Regions from separate parts of the Homo sapiens genome. Here region 2 is linked to region 1. Evidence: promoter capture Hi-C in 16 types of primary human blood cells and fetal thymus (Javierre and others, 2016). All regions are on one chromosome and are shown on one strand. The core of a region is centred on a gene start or on the middle of the fragment in contact, and the rest is flanking DNA. Distances in the headings are between cores, read along the strand shown.

Region 1 (7,724 bases), core at 2,825-5,324:
AAAAGGCAATGGCTAAATCCTGTAGCTTCCTTGTACTGGGGTAGAACTAACCCAAGGTATGTTCCTTACAATCCCCAGTGGGATTGTGACTCAGTTGTTAACTGTGGTACTCAAGCTTGTTAAGACGTAACTTTATTGCCCCTTTTCTCTTACCTATTTCCCTTTCTTTCTTTTCTCATTTTTGGTGCCTGGGATCAACTTCAAAATAAAGTGTCTGTGTCCAAATCCTTGACTCCATTGGATTTGGTGGGGGAAGGATTAAGACTAAACAGAATATGAGAATGTCCATTCCAGCATGATTTGTAATAGTAAACAATCAGCAAAATTGAGGCTTTTAAATTTTATTGTGTTTTATAGTAGCTTAGCAAAATAAATCAATAATTTATTTTTATATCTAGAACAACCGAGAATTTACATTCAGAGATATTAAATTTATAATATCTTCATAAATTGGAATTGGAATTAATTTATAATATTTTCTTATGTGAAGTCAATACTACTGACTATCAAGACTTCTTATATGAAGTCAATACTATTATCACTTTTTGGTGTAAGTGTGGAACATACATTCAAATGACTACCAAGTAATGGGATTATATGCATGCTTAGAAATAAATACAGATATCAAGTTCTGAATAAGTGGTCATGGTAATATTTATTCCCAGATAATTGCAACAAACCATGTAGAAATTATATATTTCTTAGATGAATCAACAATTCAATTGTATTATACTGTGTATTAGTCTGTTCAGGCTGTCAGAACAAAATACAATAGACTTGATGGCCTAAACACAGAAATGTATTTTCTCATAATTCTGAAACTGGAAGTCCAAAAGCAAGGAGCCAGCAGGGTTGGTGTGTGGCGAGGGTTTGCCCCTTGGGTTGCAGATGATTGGATGCCTCCTTGCTACATTTGCTACATGCTGTCTTGATCTTTTCTTTGTGTCCTCCTGGAGAGACAGCTAGAGAGAGAGAGAAAGAGAGAGAGTGAGAGAGAGGAGAAAGTTATTTTTCTCTCTGGTGTTTCTTCTTATAAAGACATTATTTCTATTGGATTAGTGTCCCAATTTAATGATCTTATTTAACCTTAATTATATCTGTAGAGGCTTCTTCCCCAAATACACAAATACAGTCATATTGGCAGTTAGGCCTTCAATATATGAATCTGGGGGAAGGAATATAAATATTTAGTCTATAATATACTCACATTCTGTACTCAAGACTTTTTATTAAAATAAGTTACAAGGAACTTATCATCCACTGATTACTAAGAGGCGTTGGGAACCATATGCAAATAATTTTTAATCTTGATCCTTCTAACACTTTATTACAAACTATTCATATCTAGAATTTAAGATTTGGATGAAACTTTTCAGATTATCTACTATAAGCACAACGTACAAGGATATTTCTATGTGTTTCTTGGCAAGGTGCCAGGATCATACTCTATTTCTGGGCGGAGGGAACAGTGCATTGTATTTACCTAAATATTTAGAGAGTCTTCTTAATATTGACTTATAATATTTTTTCTTATAATGTCTATACATTTGACATAAATATGCCATCTGGAAAATGCTGACCATATGTGTTCTCTGATTCCAAGTATCACTGTATTTATTTTCATGGTAACCTAGCTTCAGAACAACTCAAGTGCTCAAACCAAACACTGTAATATGGATACTGCCTGTCAACTAACAGATACTTTTTCTATGATTTCCTCATAAAAAGTATTTGCACAGGCTGGGTGTGGTGGCTCAGCTGTAATCCCAGCACTTTGGGAGGCTGAGGTGGGCGGATCATGAGGTCAGGAGTTCGAGAACAGCCTGGCCAACGTGGTGAAACCCCGTCTCTACTAAAAATACAAAAATTAGCTGAGCGTGGTAGTGAGCTTCTGTAATCCCAGCTACTCAGGAAGCTGAGGCAGGAGAATCATTTGAACCCAGGAGGCAGAGGTTGCAGTGAGCCGAGATCACGCCACTGCACTCCAGCCTGGGCGAGAGAGCCAGACTCTGTCTCAAAAAAAAAAAAAAAAAAAAAAGGATTAGCACGATACAGAACCCTTTTCTCATAATGCCATTTCAAAATTAAAGTTATTTGTTTTGTTGTTGTTGTAGTTGTTTTGGTAAAAGGAAGAAGAAGAAGAAGAGAAAAATTATGGATATGAGGGCAATCTAAGAGCAACATCTATCAACCATTTGATTGCCAGGGTTGGTGCAGCAGATCTGGTTGACTAGACAGGTGTTCCCTTCCTTCCTCACCACTCCATATGCGTTCCTTCCAAAGCTGTGTGCTCGGTAAAAGAGGATGACCATCCGCGATGGAGAAGGACCCATCTTCAGTCAAGGGCACGTGAGTAGATGGGCTTCCCTGCTAGAACTTCCAAACAAGCTCTCAAGAAGAGAAAAATCAATCACATGATATTATTCTTCACCTCTCTTGTTTATTATTTATTGATTTATTTTGTTGCTATTGTTGAATAGTTCATATAGAGTAAGTCTGGAGAAAAATAAATTAAACGGTAAGGACAATTCAGTGATTATCCAATTGAACAGCTGTATGTGAAATAACATCATTATTGGTATTACTTTATTACTTTTAGGGTTTGAATTCTTGTGTTCAAGTGTAGTTCTTTCAGATATTGTTGCTGTATTATCATCTCTAAATTTGTAAGTTGTTTCTTATTTCACAGGGACATAAAGACTGGAAACAAGCTTCATTGCCATTGGGGTTCAGTTGTATCTAAGTGATAAGAGAAAATTTCTTGGTGTTGTAGAAGAGCAGAAGCCATTGTTCTCATGCCATGGCTGAGGATAAATGTGTGGGCTTTGACAAATGGCAGACATGGGTTTTTGCCCATTGATTTTGGAGATCTTCCTGAGAATCATCTTCTTAGGTGTGGTAGGCAACTAAAATAATTGTTAATGGCTTCCTGAGATTCCTTCACTTAAAAATATCTTGAAAGCAGCTTTTCTGACTGTCATTTTGCCACCTCTCAGCAGTTTTATTGGCCACTAGTTCTGTGTCTTAAACCTCTTTACATGTAAAATACTTAAGAGTGCTTTCAGTTTTAATGTCTAAACTCTTATCTATTCAGTAGTGGATATTTGCCACTCTCTTCTAGTAAATATCTGGTTTTCAAATAGATTATATGGTTATGTGAGAAAAATCCCAGAATTAAAAAAAAAATCAGTCCTATTAAATTAACCACATACCTCCATCACACCCAAAGTTCTTGCTGCTTTTCCTCATTCTTTCAAAAAAATTTTTTATGGTTTCAAAACTCCATGCTGATAGTTTTTATCTTTTGTAATGATATAAATCAAGAAAATATGTCAGGAAATAAAATTGATATAATTTCAATACATTTATTTTTATATTGTTTTATTTTGTATTAGACTTGATTTTTATGATAAAAGTCAATGAAAGTTATCAAAATTTAGAAAAATAAAAATGAGATGAAATGTATTAAAAGGAAATCTTTAGACAAATTTAAAGGAGTTTAATGAAGCAGAGAATTATTTGGGAATCCAGTAGCTCTCAAGAGCCAGCAGAGTGGTTCAGAGATCTCACTTCTGCAAAGTAGGTAGGCAGTACATATGGACAGAAAATGAAAGTAAGGTACAGAAACTGGTTGGTTACAGCTTAGCATTTTTTACTTGTTTGGACATGGTCTGATCAATTGGCAGCCTGTGATTGGCTGAAGCTAGTCGGCTGTGACTGGCTGAGACCTAGCAATTTGTTACAATATATACTCCTAAATTAGGCTTTCAGTTTGTTTAGTTAAATTGTAGTTTGTTATGTAGGGACCTACGGTACCGAGACAGCCTCAAGCCAAATTTAATTTAATTAAACAATCATCACCTCAATCTTAATCTTGGCAAAGGAAATACTAAAATAAGATGGGCCATTGAGGAATCTTTGAGCCTTCCAAGTAAAATGGCAAATTTCAAGTTACACTGCGTTACTACAGGAACTACAGAGGTTAGAGTTTTGATCAAAGACTTAAAAAATTGCCATCCAGTGAACAGATACCTGATTAAAGTTACCTCTAAAGAGGGCAAATATTTAATAAATGGCAACAAAGAGCTGGCCGGGTGTGGTGGCTCACGTATGTAATCCCAGAATTGTGGGAGGCCGAGGAAGGATGATCGCTTGAAGCCAGGAGTGGTAGACCAGCCTGGGCAACATAGTGAGACCCTGTCTCTACAAAAAATAAAAATAAATTAAAAAAATTAAAATAAATAAGTAAATAAATAAGAGCTCCCAGTTTTTGCTTTAATAACCCAGGCTTGAAATGTTGTGTTTTTTTTTCCATTGGAAAAAAAACATTTTAAGGTTTCACTTTATTTTTGCTGAATTGTTAACATTGCTGAGCTGATTTCACCTAAATTATGGTAAAGATTAATCAGAGACCCTAAACTCTGAAGGAAGTATCTTAACTATTTTTCCAGAACTCACTAACCGCAAGTCCTAGAAAACTCCCAAGGGCAAGTTTCATATTTCTGGCCATATTTTAAAACTGAAATCATTTTGAGGAAAATTCTAAAGCGTTTGAAGAGAAGCATCCAAAAATTTCAATTGCTTCTCTGAAACCTTGGAATCCTGCCTGTTAATAATCTCCATGCTCTTTGCTTAGAATTTACCCACAGAATTAACTGACAGGAAACTGCCCATCACCCTCCACCCTCCCAGTAAGACTGTGCCAAAACACTCATCAGAAGCCACAATGACAAAAATAGATCCAATTGACGACTATGCAGTGACTAAGAAACGGATGTACCGATTTAAGCTATCTTCATTATCTTCTTCCTTGTTTTGATGGCAAAAAGAAAGAGAAAGCTACGTAATAGCATCTGGGCAAAACAGCTTGTACACCAAGTTCTGCCCTATGTAATTTAAAATATTTGAGTTCTTATAACATCCCTGAAAAGCATGGCTTTTAATACAAACACCACATATATACAGTACAGATCATCTAACTATAGTCATGCTTCTGGGCAGAGCTTGCAGCAATAGCAAAAATAATAAAAGAAAATTCTCTTTGTACAGCTGAATGGCTGCACTAGAATTTTCAGTGTTCAGATGTAATTAGAAAACAGCTGTGAAGGAAAATCAATTGTTCCTGGTAGTCAATGGCTAATTTTCCACAATCAAAATAAAGAATGCAATATGACATGTTTGTAATGAGCAAGTAATTGTTTCTCTTTTGTTTATTGTTTTAACATTTTTCCCTTTATTTGTGGGAGCTGTCATTTGCTTGCTTTAGGACAACTTCTCCTAGTCTTTGCTTCTCCCATCCATATTTAAATACTAGCAACTGCCAAAGAGGCTATGCAGTCCAGCTCAGTTTATTCACGATTGCCTTGCTTATGATGGTGATTTGTGGACTTGCAAGGAAATATTGTCCTTGCTTTTATGAATTCACAATAAAGCTTCCATAAACGGAATGATTATTAAACACTAGCATTTATTCATGGGATTTAACTTTGATTCATTCTGCAAAGGTCTCATGTGTCAAAAAGATGCAGTTCCCAGAATTCATTGACCTGCTGCTCCAAGTGCGTCTGCATTGCAAAACAAAACAAAACTGAAACGACCACACGGCCCTTTTTTTATACCCTTCAATCATTGGCATAGACTGGACGGTATTGGTGTAGCAGATGGATAGAAAAGCTCAACCTCTATGGTGCACACTTGGAATTTAGATGGTTGGAAAATTAACTTAAATGCTAGAATAGACCAATGAGAGTAAAATTGTTTTATCATGCAAAAGAGTCTGGTTGAGAAACACCAAGAGGATTAACACTCCTAGGCTGCTTTCAGCTGATAGAAAAAGAAAAAAAAAATGCTTATATTATTTAGTGAAATTAATGTCTATATTATTCTTTTTCTACACTTATATTTTTCTGGAACATTCTTTGAAAGCAAATATAATTGCAGTTTCAGAGAATGAAATGAATAGTAAATAAGGACTGAATCTTAATTGCTGTGTGATCTTGGGACCATGTCTTAGTCTTGGTTTATCTCTATTTCTTTGTGAGAAAAATGATAATTAATATGTGAATATAGGTTCTTCCTCTTCTAATATTATTACATAAAATATATTAGTATATGAATATTTCCAAATTTTAAAGTTCTGGAGGAAAGACATTTTCCATTAAAAAAATGCATGATAAGCCATCAGTAGCCACTAAGTCATAACTAGTTTCATCACATCCATTTAAACCTGTGACTGACAATTTTCTGATAGTACTTCTGAATTTTTCTCAGTCTTTTGTCTCCAGAGAGCCTGTTCCAGAATCTGTGCAGTGTTTATTATATAGCTCCATTTCTTGGCCCTAAAAAGGCATTGTGGTTTGAAGTCGCTGATGATGAGAAGGGAATTCTATATTTTATGAAGCAGAGTAAACTATTAACTGAACCAAACTTTGAACTGAACTTTGAAAACTATTGGCCTACTTCAATTATTATGGATAACAAACCTGAATATATTTTTTGAATGGCTAAGGTGCCATGCAGCTTTTGTTATAAAATTTCAGGAGGCACTCTCCCCTGTGATTCCCTGTCTATCCACTTTTGTTCTTCATAGTCTTAAGTAGAATACCAATAATTTGATATTCATATTTCCTCCTAATAAATCTCATACTGTCATACTTCATTACCTCTGCTTTTTCTTACCCTCAGCACAGAACGTCCCCTTTTTCCACTTCCCAGTCTTTTGAAAAGCACCACAGGCAAGGTCAAGAGATGTTTGCTTGTTTGATTTTTAATTTGTGTTGTTTGTTTTTGAGATCACGATGTTATACATACTTTTGTAGATGTTGTGCCAATGAAGCCAGTGGAAATTTGACTGGAAGATGAAATGATAAAAGATGGATGACACTTCTCATCCCATGACTATAAGAAGAGATAACGTAACTAAAAGGTAGTTAGATGGTATAATTAAAATATATAGTATAAGACCTGACAACCAATTGAAATGAAGGAGGAAGACAGAAGGATGGTGGAGTTCTGTAAATTCTCCAAGTTGGTAGTATTATTTTATGTCTACAACATGCTTCCTACAAGTACAAACATATGGCTGATGCTGTGTCAAATATATATTGTCTTTCAGAAATTTGAAAATTGTGGTACTGCACACAAGGAGTGTATAGAAGGCTATTAGAGTTGAGTCAGTTCATGACAATCTAAAAAGGAGAAGAATGTCAAACTCTTGCTGCTGAGATTCTGAGATCTCTCCTTTTCCTTGCTCAGGGGTTGATTCTTTAGCTGTTTTCTTGATTTTCTGATCAACCCAAAAACTTTTCCAAGAAGTCCTCTTCACGCAAATTTTCCCCTTATTTTATTCACAATTGTTTTCTGGTGCATGGTATTCAAATAAGTTAAAGTAATAAATAAAGTAATGCAGAAGTTAGTACCTGAGTGTGGCTTGCAAGAAGCAGACCCTGAGTAAAAGTGTTGGTGTGGAATCATTCAGCAGATCACGATGAGACTACTATCTGAATGGTAATGTGAAAACAGTGTTTGGCAGTGGTAAAATATCCAGCAAAAGCTTTATTTCAAATCCCCTAAGACTATATTCCCATTGGCAAAGTCTCTATGGAAAAGGTAGCTACTCCCATACACTGATTTTTATAAGATATAAGCAATGACAGAACCATGGAGAGAAATGTTTGTGTTGGATACATTGAAATATACAACATAAAGAAAAACAAACTCAAATT
Region 2 (7,724 bases), core at 958-3,457, 2.7 Mb after region 1:
GAGGGCATAAGAGAAAGTTAGAAAATGGGTCTCTTAAGTTTAATGTACTCTACTATGTACCCATAAGCCCCTAGCAAAATTGTCTGGTAGACAGTTTTTGTTTTGTTTTGTTTTACCATTTTCTTTATTTCTTCATCCTACAAATATTTACTGATTCTCTTCCACAAGCCAGACACTATTGTGGGTACTGGAGAGACGGCACTGAACAAGGTGTTTGACCTCAAGAAGCCTACATTTTACAAGGGGAACAACATATAAACAATAAACAAATGATCCACATAATATTCCCAGCCTGATTCAAGCTTCAGGTGGCCTTTAGGTCTTTCTTCCAAAATGTATGCTTAAGAAGAACCAAGTAGATTCAAACAGATGTATAATTGTCATAGGGATTTTACTAGCATTTTAAAAATCAACTAGAAGCCTTACTTCAACTACTAAACAGAAACTCAGTTTCTAGCTAGGGCTAATAATGATTCTAGCTTGGTGATAAGTGAAGTTCTAGAAAATCAAACTTGTTCGTTGCCTATTTTGAATATACTTTCTCTAACCATTTCCAAACAAACGTGAATTTTATGATATATATTTAGTTTTGCCCATATCAAAAAAGTTAACAATGTGAAGTTACAGATGGCCCTTCCATGCGGAATACGTGTAAGGCCTCCTAGTTATCCCTACACAATCCCCTTACTTTATCTATTAATCCGCTCTATTTTCTAACATCCATCTATTTAAAAAATACCCTTCCGGCCGGGCTCACGCCTGTAATCCCAGCACTTTGGAAGGCCAAGGCGGGCGGATCACGAGGTCAGGAGATCGAGACCATCCTGGCTAACACGGTGAAACCCCGTCTCTACTAAAAATACAAAAAATTAGCCGGGAGTGGTGGCGGGCGCCTGTAGTCCCAGCTACTCAGGAGGCTGAGGCAGGACAATGGCATGAACCCGGGAGGCGGAGCTTGCCCTGAGCCGAGATGGTGCCACTGCGACAGAGCGAGACTCCGTCTCAAAAACAAAACAAAACAAAACAAAACAAAACAAAAAAACCCCTTCCATACTTTATTTGTGCATAGTGTTAAATTTTTCTTAACTTCATTATTTCATATATCATAAGATGAATTTATATGGCTATCTCTACCTCATCAGGTTGTAAATTGCCTTCTAGAAACATTAGGCCGTTTTTGGCATGCTGTGTTTAATTTAGGCATGCCATGACCATTCAAAAAGATTCAAACCCATTGCTGTCGCTTAAAATAATTATTTGATGAATTCAATAAATTTTTCTTTTTCCTTTTGCCTGGACTTAGTGCCACTGGCACTGGAATTTAAACCACTGAGCTTAAATTGGCTGACGCTAGACAATTACAACTGGAGCTACAATACTGCCAAAGAAGAGGCTTTCTGGGAAAGGCTCCAATGCCCAGTCTCTAATCCCAGATACCACTGGGTGTCAATCCACTTAAACCTTGGCTAACAATTTTTCTTTTAAGAAGCATTTTTTGTAACAGAACAATAATTCTGGTGTTGTTTCAACATGCAACACAAATTAAATGAGAGTTTGAAAGATGACTGAATAGAGACGATTAGTTCTCTGAAGAGGCAAGGATCTGTAAAAATGTATGATACGCATAAACACGCTGGCCTGAAATTTAACGATGCTAATACACACTTGGTGGTACAAGAAAAAAAAATCTAGGAAGTAAAGCAATGCAAATAAACCAGTGGTGGTCTAAACCACAATATTCTGCGGAGCCAGCACTCGCGATTTCCTCGTTTTTGGAAAATTACATCTGTCACAAGAGCACTGAAACCCTTCCTGTATATCAAACAGCAAAGAATGTTTTAGAGAAGGCATAATAAGTAAACTGCTCATAGTTACTTATTCACACAGTGGTTTTAAGTGCCAGGTCTTGCCTCCAAGCAGTACCACTGGGCATCCCTCTTGACATCACCTCATTCCCCTTCCCCAATCTACCGAAGCGATGACCCTTCACCGCCCAGTACCCAGCAGTGACCAGAGTGGTGGGAAGGGCCTAAAGGGGCAGGTTGCGGAGGTTCCTTTGCTTCCACTACATACCTGAAGAAGAAGGGTATTGGGGCCCCCTTCCGCAACCCGCAAAGACCCGACAGCCTCAGAAGCCACCGCCGCAGCCACAAGCAGAGCCCCGGTCACATCCCGGGACCCGCTCCTCCGCAGCTCCGTTTGTTTACGGAAGTGACGTAAGAGGTACAGCCTCCATGCCCCAAGCGGAAGCCCCGCCTTTTCCTGCTCCCCCAGTGTCGCTCTTGGCTCCGCCCTCGGCATTTCATTGCTTCCCCTGTCCTTCCTTTAGCTGTAACTCCGGCGGGCGTGTTGGGTGTGTCGTTTTAGGCTCTGTGACCCAGGAGCAAGACGCAATAAGCGGGTGCAGTGGAGGTAGAAACGGGAAATGCAGTACCCTTTCCGGAAGCTACTCCGCCCCTCGGTGAGTGTTAGATTCCCCCCCCGAACTACAATTCCCAGAATGCTGTTCGAGCATGCCCGAAGGCGGAACCAGAGTGTCGCCATGCAACTGTTCCTTGGTTGTTTCCGATTGGTTGCCCGGACTTCTCGCGGCTAAACTAATTTTGGCTCCAAGGCGGCGTGAAGAGTGTGATTCTGTTCAGCGACCGTGATTCTGTTCAGCGACCATGATGTTGAGCCCCTAATTGAGAGTCTGTTACCACTATTAATAGCTACTCTGTTCGGGCCCTACACATAACGGTGTATCTAAACCTCTCTACAATTTTATGGGTAGGTGTTATACTCTCTGTTTTACAAATGGGGAATTTGAGGCTCAGAAAGGCTAATTGATGCAGGTGTCTCTCTGTCGTCAAAGATAGTTCTACTTCCACTATACTTAAAGCCTCTGGAGAAGGAATTGCAGGCTGAGAGAAAGAGATCTATCTTAAATGAGGGAAGAAATGCACGTTTCATTGCCTGGTCTGGGTAGCCTTCCCGGTGTTGGAGTGGGAGGTGGGAAGGTTTTAGATTCACAGGTCCTTAGATTGAAGGGACTCTGGAGGAACACCACATAGCACCCCCCGCATTAGCTAATGGGGAAACCATATCTAGAGATTGTATCCATGCCAGAAAAGGCAGAGCAAAGACAACCCCAGTCTCTTGGCTTCTAGGATAGGATGTTCTTCCGCCACCCGCCATTTAAAAAAAAAAAACAAAACTATTGAAATGTTAAAAAAAAAAAGCACAGAATAAACAACGCACCCACTATCCAGAACGAACAGATTTATGAATGAAAGAAATGGAGCATTACAGATAAAGAAGGTGTTCCCTATTCTCAGTCCCATTCTACTACCACCCTCAGAGAGGCAACCAGGATCATGAATTTGATATGTATCTTGCCAATCTAGGTTTCTATATTTAAACTATTACTATGTATTATAAACAATATGTAGAATGGTTTGGGGCATTTGAAGTTTTACATGAATGCTATTATATTTTGTGTATTGATCTGCAACTTGATTTTTTCACCAAATTCTGTGTTTTTGAGAGCTATCCACATTGATAAATATAGCTAGACTTTATCAAATAGATTTGTCACAAATTATTTGGGAATTCCCATAGTGATGGATGTTTAGGTTGTTTCCCATTTTTCACCATTACAAACACTACTGTACAGTCTGCTCAATATCTTTTCCCAGTTTCTCCTTTTAATTAATGTCGAATTGTCTTATTTGTATGAACAGAGCTTGCAACTGGTGATTCACATGCTACTTTTTTTTTTTTCAAATTGGTTGCTAACAGCTAAAATTGAAAGAATAAAAACAATGTGGCATCCCATGAATTAACGGGAAGATCTGACTACGTTAGATGTGCATTGTAGCCTGGCAACAATGGTTCAAGCTGGAAAGCATCTGCCTCCTTTACCTCAGTTCAAGTAATATCTAGTTTTTCTTTGTCTTTAGTACCCATCTGAGCCCTGTAGCATTTGTGTTTACAACCTCCAACATGATGTAGGGACACAGGAAAGTACCCTTCTAAATGGACATGTTTCAGGTATTCAGAAATAGGTATTCAGGTTTTGAATACCTATTTTAAGTCCCTATTTTAGCCACACCCTGTGATAGGAGGTCAGGATGCATCTATCAACAAAAGGTACAAGAGCTTTATAGTCAGAGATCTTATATTCCCGATATAAGAGACTGACAATAAATTAGTATGCAAATAAAATAGTTTCATTTAGTCAGATGAGAGTCCTGAAATAACAGCTTAAGGTCAAAAGTAGTTTGTACTGAAGGAGAAGTATCAGGGAAGGCCTTCCCGAAAATGCAGCTTTGAGGTAGAGATATGAATAAAGTGCATGAGCCAGCCATGGAATGATCTGAGGAAAATGAGTCCTTGAGTGCCAGGCACGGTGGCTTTTGCCTGTAATCCAGCACTTTGGGAGGCTGAGGCAGACAAATAGCTTGAACCTAAGAGCTGGAGACCAGCCTAGGCAACATAGCAAAACCCTGTCTTTACAAGAAATACAAAAATTAGCTGGGCATGGTGATGCAGGCCTGTAGTCCCAGCTGCTTGAGTGGCTGAAGTGGGAGGATCACCTGAACCCAGGAGGTCAAGGCTGCAGTTAGCCATGATCATGTCACTGTGCTCCAGCCTGGGTTACAAAATGAGACCCTGTCTCAAAAAAATAAAAAAAAAATAAGAAGGAGAAGGAGAAGAAAAGAAGCATTCTTGAATAGAACATACGGCTAAAATGCAGGCCATTAGGCAAAATGAACTTTAACATGTTTGAGGAAGCAGAGGGTTAGTGAGGTGAATTGTACTGGGCTAGGGACAGAGTGACGCAAGATAGAGTTGTTGTAGAGGTACAGTTTCAAGTGTGATTTCTTTAATCTAAAATCTAGAGTTCCTCCCTGAGAGAAATGATCTTTCAGATTTTCTAGATTTTCCTTTAATTCCTTTAAACTGTAAGCATCCATTCTTTGGATTAACTGTTAAATGCAGACCTTGTATAAATTACTCCAATCATATACTTTCTTCCTGAGGATTATATTTAGAGGATGGGAGCTTTGATTAACAAGACCCTTCCCCTGCCTCCCAGTACTCATACATTGTATAGCATAGGTAGGTAAGGAGGAATACTGCTGGCGAATTTCCTAGTAGTGGCAGTGGAGAGCCATTGAGAGAAAAATCTGCTGGGGGCCCAGAAATCTCTATTTAAAAAAAATTTGTCTTATGGAAAATTTCAAACATATACTGAGGAAGACAGAAGACTATAATGAATCCCTCATCCAGCCATTAACCCCTGGCCAATGATGTCGATTATAGCTGTTACCAGTGACGTTGACCCTGATCCTTTATGGAATGGAATTTTTGTTATGTTATTTTTTAGGGTGCTATGAGGATAAGAAAAGAAACAGGCATTTGAGAAGAAAATTATAACCGAATTTATACTTATAAATTTTTGATATCATAATCTCAGGTGATTCACATGGACACGCGTAAACACACCCACAAGTGCAGCTAGAAGTAAATCACCCAGAAACTGTCATTGTCCTTGTACATTGTATATACAATGCAATCATTTCATACCTTGGCCAGAAAACTGTGATTTCTGTCTTGCAAAGCTGTATGTAGTAGATAATGTGATAACCTGTAATATTGATCTGATAAATATGTATTCAGATGAAACCTGTAAAAAAAAAAAGCCCCTCTTCTGACATTTTTCAGTCTCTAGTATTATGTTGAAGTAAATCTCAGATATAATTTAATCCCTAATATTTTAATATAGATTGCTAAAAGATTAAAACTTTTAAAGACTTCACCACAATGCCTTTATGATTCCTAAGCAGCAATGAATGATTAATGTTATTAAATATTCAGTAAGTATTCAAGTTTCCATTCGAATCAGAAGTGTCATAACTTTTTTCACATTTTACTTGAGTCAGGAACCTCTCTTTCTGTAAGGTCCTCAGGTGATGAATGGGTTTGGAAGCCTCTCTTGTACAGCCTCATTAGTTGAGCTACAAACATGCATTGTCCTTTCCCTTCAGAAAGTTAGGGCGCTATGAAAGCAGGAGTCCCCAGCCTCCAGCTGTAGACTGGAACTAGTCCGTGGCCTGTTAGGAACTGGGCCACACAGCAGGAGGTGAGCAGCCAGTGAGGGAGCATTACCACCTGAGCTCCCACCTACTGTCAGATCAGCAGTGGCATGAGATTCTCATAGGAGCCTGAGCCCTAATGTGAACTGCGCATGCAAGGGATCTAGGTGGGCGGTGGTCCTTATGAGAATCTAACGAAAGCCTGATGATCTCAGGTGGAACAGTTTCAGTTTCATCCCCAACCCCCACCCCGCCCCATCCATGGAAAGATTGTTTTCCACTAAACTGGTCCCTGGTGCCAAAAAGATTGGGGACTGTTGCTCTAAAGGGGAAGGCAGGTATCTCAAAGCAAATGGATACTCTCAGTGCCTGAAGCACAGTCATTCCTGTATTGTCCTTTGTGGTTCTTATAGGGAAGAGATGTTTTTTGTTTGTTTCTTGTTTTTGTTTGTTTTTACCCAGAAGCCTATCCATCATTTTCTAAGTGTGCTTCCACTTCCATTTCCCCTGATGCCGGAATGCCTTGGCCAAGATAGTAACTGCTTAATGCTTCTTTGCGTGTCTGGCTCAGGAAACAGCTAAGAAAAAAGATAAGAAGTCATAAAGCAGAAATGAGCTCGGCATGTTCACGGAACTGAAAGAATGCCAGCGTAGTGGTCTGGAGTGCAGGGGGACAAGAAGTAGTATGAGATGAAGTCCCCAAGGTTGCCAGAGGGTCAGGTCAGGAAGGGTTTTTTAAACCAATATAAGAAATCTGTATTTTTTCCCCTAAGCACAGCAATAGGCATTGGAGAGTTTTAAGGCATGACATGGTCTAAGTTACATTTTTAAAAGATTATTCTATAGAAGAATGGAAACAGGAAGGCCAGTTAAGAGAAATGGGCCATAGTGAGGTGTTATATAGGCTTGCTTTACAGCTCAGACCTGAAAAAATAAGTTATTTCAAAAGCCATACTGTACTATGACTACTATTATAAAACTTGGTAAGATTCCTTGAGACACCCTCTAAAAAGGGTGCCAAGAGACTGGATCTGAACTATCCAGCACTGAAGGCCTTCAGAGCTGTGCTATTGTAGATGAGCAAGCCTTTTGGGAACTGTTAATAGTGAAAGGAAGAACCACGTGGTGAAGAGCTGGGAGCCACCATTTATGGAGGAGCATGGTATGGTGTCATGGAAAGTGCACCAGACCGGGAGTTGGGGGAAACCCCATCTCTTGTCTACTCCAGGCTGTACACTTTTTTTTTTTTGAGACAGAGTCTCACTCTGTCACCAGGCTGGAGTGCAGTGGCAGAATCTTGGCTCACTGCAACCTCCGCCTCCCAAGTTCAAGCGATTCTCGTGCCTCAGCCTTCTGAATATCTGGGATTACAGGCAGGTGCCACCACACCCAGCTAATTTTTGTATTTTTAGTAAAGACGGGATTTTACCATGTTGGCCAGGAAGGTCTCCATCTCCTGACCTCGTGATCCCCCCGCCTCAGCCTCCCAAAGTGCTGGGATTACAGGCATGAGCCACTGTGCCCAGCCTCTAGGCTGTACATCTTAAGTATTAGTGAGAGGCCCAAAAATGAACACAGAGGCCCTTACCAATTTAAGTATTTTGTTGTTGTTGTTGTTGTTAATGGCTTTGGAAAAACAAGGGG

Evidence for each region. The method cuts DNA at HindIII sites, captures the fragments that hold promoters and counts their contacts. A CHiCAGO score of 5 or more calls a contact.
Region 2: the fragment with the promoter of CCDC28A here is called in contact with a fragment that was not itself captured in region 1 in 1 of 17 cell types (naive CD4 T cells); the score reaches 6.4 in naive CD4 T cells.

What each region holds. Positions count from the first base shown.
Region 1 is chr6:141,480,845-141,488,568 of GRCh38, reverse strand. It overlaps the pseudogene RN7SKP106. Among named protein-coding and RNA genes, the nearest start is that of GJE1, 650 kb to the left of the region's middle. RefSeq lists an enhancer at 4,808-4,947. The HindIII fragment of the contact is 2,721 bases long and covers 2,714-5,434 here.
Region 2 is chr6:138,768,252-138,775,975 of GRCh38, reverse strand. It overlaps CCDC28A (coiled-coil domain containing 28A), which reads right to left and starts at 2,207. Exons shown (of 6, transcript NM_015439.3): 1 at 2,074-2,207. It overlaps CCDC28A-AS1 (CCDC28A antisense RNA 1), which reads left to right and starts at 2,273. Exons shown (of 3, transcript NR_161205.1): 1 at 2,273-2,461. RefSeq lists enhancers at 1,895-1,954, 2,315-2,374, 2,395-2,444, 1,808-2,481, 2,482-3,156 and 1 more. The HindIII fragment of the contact is 8,118 bases long and covers 305-7,724 here.